Linked DNA regions of Homo sapiens: region 1 is linked to region 2. The links are contacts of gene promoters, found by promoter capture Hi-C in human tissues and cell types (Jung and others, 2019). All regions are on one chromosome and are shown on one strand. The core of a region is centred on a gene start or on the middle of the fragment in contact, and the rest is flanking DNA. Distances in the headings are between cores, read along the strand shown.

Region 1 (2,717 bases), core at 66-2,565, 400 kb before region 2:
GGCAGGGCAACCCCAGCCACCCGCCTCCAATCCGCAGAACCCACGTCGACCCAGAGTGGGGGGGGCAGTTGCTGGACCCCAGGAAGCCACCCGCCCACCCCCTCCCGGGCACCTTGATGAAGGCGTAGCCAGCCCCGTTGTCCGTGATGGTCAGCCCCAGAGCATCCTCTGTCTTAGTGACCTCCACCTCCTTGGTCTCGCCTCGCACGTGGGCAAAGATGAAGTCCTCCAGGCCTATCTGACCCCCCAGGAGCTTCTGCATGTCCACTTTGTGGCTGTTGAGGGTGCAGAATAAAATCTTCCCGGGGGAGAAGGAGCCTAGAGTTAGCCAGGGCATGCATCCCCCCACGCAGCCACCCTGTCTGCGCAGGCCCCTGCCCCCAGCGACCAGGATCCCAGCCCATGGGAAAGGGCAGGGCGTGGGACCCCCAGAACAGAGAGAGGAGGGAGAAGGAGACTTCCAGCAGGTGGAGACCCCTCTCCATACCCCGGGACCTCCAGCCCCCAGACCTCCAGGTTTAATCTGCTGGCGCCCCCTGGGGGCTGCAAACCAAACGAACCCGGATTGGAAAAACGCCCAGGAACCCCCCAACCCCACGGCGGCCTCAAACTTCCCATCCCTAAGGGGGCCATCTGGAACCCCAGACCCCAGCTACGCCCAGGAAGCACAGAGGCGCTTCCCCGAGGGCTGGGGTCCGCTCCAAGCTAGGTCTGCGCAGAGGATTTTCTGGAATATCTAGGGGTCCGCTAGTCCTAAGACCTGCCCATCTTTTGCGCAGAGCGTGCAAAGGGGGCCCCTGGGAGTGTGGCACCCCGGGATCTGAGGGCTGGGTCTCTGAGATCCGGCGATTAGGCGGCCACCCCGACGTCTGGGATCCGGGGATCTGGGGTCTCCCGTCCAGGGTCCAAGCTCCCTACCCCTCACCCCATCAGGCGGGTGGTCTTGGGCGCCGGTGTCCGGGCTCCTTACCTCGGTGGGCGCGATCCCGAAGGCTTCGGCGATCTTGGCGTACAGCTCGCGGACGTTGGTGAAGCCCTCGATCTTGCCCGTGGGGCTCCCGTGCGCCAGCTGCGTGCGGAAGACGAGGCGCGGGCGGGCGCGGGGCGCGGCCGGGGGCTCCGAGGGCGCGGGCGGGGGCGCAGACGCGCGCGGGGTCTCGGTCCCCCGGGCCTCCCGGGCCGCTGCTCCCTCCATGGCGGGAGAAGTTCGGCCACCCACCCGGGCCCTCGCCGCCGCCGCCGGATCCGCCGCTTCCTGCAGCCTCCCCTCCCCCGGCCCAGGGCGCGACAGCCGAGACGCCCGGGTAAGGGGATCTGGGAACCCGAGCCTCCCGGGAAGGCGACACCGCGGGGTGCGCAGGGGTGGGTCGGGCCCCAGGTGTCCGGGCCCTGCCAGGGCCAGCTGTGCCCTCCCCGGGGATACCCGCAGTCCGGGGGGGCCTGAGCTCAGGACCCTGGAAGAACAGGGACCACAAATAAGGACAGGGACAGGCCTGGAGCGGTGGCTCACGTCTGTAATTCCAGCACTTTGGGAGGCCGAAGCGGGCAGATGACCTGAGGTCAGGAGTTCAAGACTAGCCTGGCCAACATGGTGAAACCCCGTCTCTACCAAAAATACAAAAATCAGCCGGACGTGGTGGCGGGCGCCTGTAATCCCAGCTACTCGGGAGGCTGAGATCTCTTGAACCCGGGAGGCGGAGGTGGCAGTGAGCTGAGATGGCGCCATTACACTCCAGCCTGGGCAACAAAGCGAGACTCCGTCGCAAAAAAAAAAAAAAAAAAAAAAAAAAGGACAGGGACAGCTGAGGGTGCTGGAGCACTCACCCTCTGCTAGGCGAGGTCATTGTTTTATTTTATTTTATTATTTTTATTTATTTATTTATTTTGAGCTGGAGTCTCGCTCTGTCACCCAGTTTGGAGTTCAGTGGCACGATCTCAGCTCACTGCAACCTCTGCCCACCAGGTTCAAGCAATTCTCATGCCTCGGCCTCCCCAGTAGCTGGGATTACAGGCATATACCACCATGCCCGGCTAATTTTTTTGTATTTTTAATAGAGATGAGGTTTCACCATGTTGGCCAGGATGGTCTTGAACTCCTGACCTCAGGAATCCACCCACCTTAGCCTCCAAAAAAGCTGGGATTACAGGCATGAGCCACCACGCCCAGCCTTTGGTTTGTTTGTTTGATTTTGGAGACGGAGTCTAGCTCTGTCGCCCAGGCTGGAGTGCAATGGCGTGATCTCGGCTCACTGCAACCTCCACCTCCTGGGTTCAAGCGATTCTCCTGCCTCAGCCCCCCTAGTAGCTGGGATTATAGGCGCACACCACCATGCCTGGCTAATTTTTGTATTTTTTAGTAGAGACAGGGTTTCACCATGTTGGTCAGGCTTGTCTCGAACCCCTGACCTCAGGTGATCCACCTGCCTTGGCCTCCCAAAGTGCTGGGATTACAGGCGTGAACCACCGCACCCGGCCGCATTCAGTTTTTTAAAATTTAATTTAGAAACATGATTAATTTTTTGTACAGTTGGGATCTCACTGTGTTGCCCAGGCTGGTCTCAAACTCAAGACCAGGAGGTTCAGGCCATCCTTCAGCCTTGGCCTCCCAAAGTGCTAGGATTACAGATGTGAGCCACTGTGCCCAGCTTCTCTTCAGCATTTAAAGCTACCATCTGACATATCAGATATTTTATTTTATTTTATTTTTTGAGACGGAG
Region 2 (2,700 bases), core at 48-2,547:
AGGGCCACGACGGGAGGGGGCGAGGCTGTTGAGTGGGAGACTTGCAGAATGCAAGGGCAAGGGGGTGCGAATTTGGAAAGGGAAGAGGAAATCCTGGAAAGATGGAACAAGTGGGGTTCTGGGAAGTGGGTGTGAGGAGGCTGAGCTGAGGGCGTGGGTATGCATCAAAGGCGGGACAGAAAGGGGGTCAAAGGGAACCCCAGGCGAGTGGACTGAACTGGGGACGTGGGAGGAGACCAGGGAAGCTGGGCTAGCAGATTCTGAAACATGACTCACGAACTGGGACCAGAGAGCGTCAGGGGTCTGGGGACAAATGTGCCCTTGACGTGGGGGCCGGTGACTAGAGCGAGAAAATTCAGGGGAGTTGAATTTGGGCACTGGACAAAATGCACTTGGCACCCAGGGCCGTGGGAGGGGGTGGGGAATGCTGGACCACCGCGTCGGGTGGCTCAGCCTGGCAGAAATCAGTGCAGGGACCTTTAACTCCAAACGCAGTCAGCTAAAGGCGAGAGGCCTGGGAACACGGACGTGACCCAGTGAATCCAGAGACCAACCAGATGGTCTCCAGAACAGGACCCTGGGAGCTGGAGGTCAGGACGGGAGCGTCTGCTCAAGTGAGCCCGGACCAGGAAGCCTAAGGGGCGGAGGGGGCCCAGGAGGGAGAAACTCGGCAAGGCAGGCAGACGCCGGCCCAGCTGGGGACAGGAGAGAGGGGACTTAGGGCTCCAGGGACGCGGGACGCTTGGCCCGGCCATGGGTTCCGGGGCAGGGAGACCTAGGCAGGGGCCGGGGGCTGTGGGAGCGAGCGCGGGGGGTCCCTGGGCGCTAGGCAAGGAGAGCAGGGATTCCAGGGCGCCCGGGGGTCCAGGGCGGCAGGGCTCTGCCTCGCCTGGGGCCTGAGCATGGGTCGGGCAGCCCAGGCCGGAGCTAGGGATCGGCCTGGGGATCGCCGGGCCGGAGTGGCGTGGCCGGGGAGCCCGGGGAGCCCCGAGGGTGGGCCGGGGACACGCACCGTAGGGCTGGCCCTGCAGGTCGTACTGCTGCATGCGGTACACGGTGAACTCGTGCGCGGCGTCGGCGGCAGGCAGCGGCGGCGCCACCAGCAGCAGCACAGCGGGCAGGAAGACGATGAAGCCGAGCGGCAGACAAGACGCCTTCAGCATGTTCTCCAGCACCTCGCCCGCTTCCTCCAGCATCCTGGCCGGCGGCGGGGCCGCGCGGGGCGGCAGCTGGGACGGGACGGCGGCGGCGGCGGCTCCCGCGGACTCACCTCGGCATGGGTAGCCGCCGGGGTCCTGCGGGCGCCGCGCGGGGCAGCCCGCACTCGCCCTGAGGTCCTGTGGGCACCGCGGCGAACCGCCCCGCCAGCCGCGCTGCCTGTCGGGAATTGTAGTCCGTCCGTCCGGCGCTCGCGGAGCCCTGTGGGAGTTGTAGGCCCACTCTGGAACTCCCGGAAGGTGCGGCAGGCTGTTCGGCTAATACCGTTGAGGTTTCACATAAACTCCAAGTCATAAAATGCAATAAAATGCTTTAAAAAACTATTTCGCGATATCACTTTCTTAACCTTGTCTTTGGCGTTGGGGGAGCTAGGGTGAGGGGCGAAAGGTGGGGACAGGACGTGACCTTGCGACCTGGAAGGAAGTTGGGGATAAAGAGAAAAGGAAGTGCCTGCCTGGCGCGCTAGGTCTTCTGGGAGTTGTAGTCCCGTCAAACACACAAAGGGTCACGGGAACTGTAGTCGTCCTGGCAGAAATTGCTGAGAAAAACAAAAATCACTTAAAACTCCCGAGGATGTAGATGTCAAACTCCACGAAGGCAAAAACTTTTGTCTGTTTTGTGCATATGATGTATCCCCGGCATCTAGCACAAGACCTGGCGCACGGCGGGTGGCCTATACCATTTTTGAATGAATGAATGAAAAATAGAAAGTCATGATAGTCAGTTCCTAAGGGAGGCCGCAGTGGGTTGTGGGACTTGTAGTCTGGAACCTGCGGTTTGTGCAGGGGTCGGTGGCAGGTATTTATATTTATCTTTATTCATATTTGGGGCATACTTATACTAAAAAAGTATTTGTTGTTCATCAGAAATTTAAAGTTAAAACCCAGTGTCTCAGGGCTGGAGGTACCTAAGGAACGTCCCTTTGTACAGATGGGGAGACTGAGCCCCAGGGTGCAGCAGACAGTAGCCCTGGCTCTCAGCACGTTATCATCCCAGGCTCCGTACAGCTGCCTAAGGAGTCAGGGCTTCCTTTCTGTCCCAAGTGAGAAGTGGCATTGGTGCCGATTAAGAGCCTGGGCTCAAATCCCAACTCCTCCATTTCCCAGCTGTGTGGCTTTGGGCAAGTCGCTTCACCTCTCAGAGTCTCAGTTTCCTCAGATATAATGATAAAGAATCAAGCACTCTCCCTGCCAGCAGCATGTGAGAATTCTGTTTGTTTGTTTGTTTGTTTGTTTGTTTTTGAGATGTAGTCTCTGTCACCTAGGCTGGAGTGCAGTGGCTTGATCTCAGCTCACCGCAACCTCCACCTCCTGGGTTCAAGCAATTCCTGTGTCTCAGCCTCCTGAGTAGCTGTAAATTACAGGCGTGAGCTACCGCGCCCGGCTAGAAAGGGAGTTTCTGAGTGTGCTGCTGGGTCACTGAGCACCTACTGTGTGCCAGCCGTGTGGTGGGTGCTGGGGACACAGCCGGGACCCCAGCAAA

The links. The method cuts DNA at HindIII sites, captures the fragments that hold promoters and counts their contacts. A contact is called where the count stands out against the background at its distance.
Region 1: a contact is called between the fragment with the promoter of GIPC3 here and the fragment with the promoter of NCLN in region 2, in 1 of the 25 tissues and cell types used here (mesenchymal stem cells).

What each region holds. Positions count from the first base shown.
Region 1 is chr19:3,584,076-3,586,792 of GRCh38, reverse strand. GIPC3 (GIPC PDZ domain containing family member 3) reads right to left here and starts at 1,315. Exons shown (of 6, transcript NM_133261.3): 1 at 971-1,315; 2 at 113-298. The coding sequence starts at 1,195. The HindIII fragment of the contact is 10,668 bases long and covers 1-2,717 here.
Region 2 is chr19:3,184,527-3,187,226 of GRCh38, reverse strand. NCLN (nicalin) reads right to left here and starts at 1,297. Exons shown (of 15, transcript NM_020170.4): 1 at 1,013-1,297. The coding sequence starts at 1,196. RefSeq lists a silencer at 811-1,380 and enhancers at 1,891-2,030, 1,337-2,219. The HindIII fragment of the contact is 11,170 bases long and covers 1-2,700 here.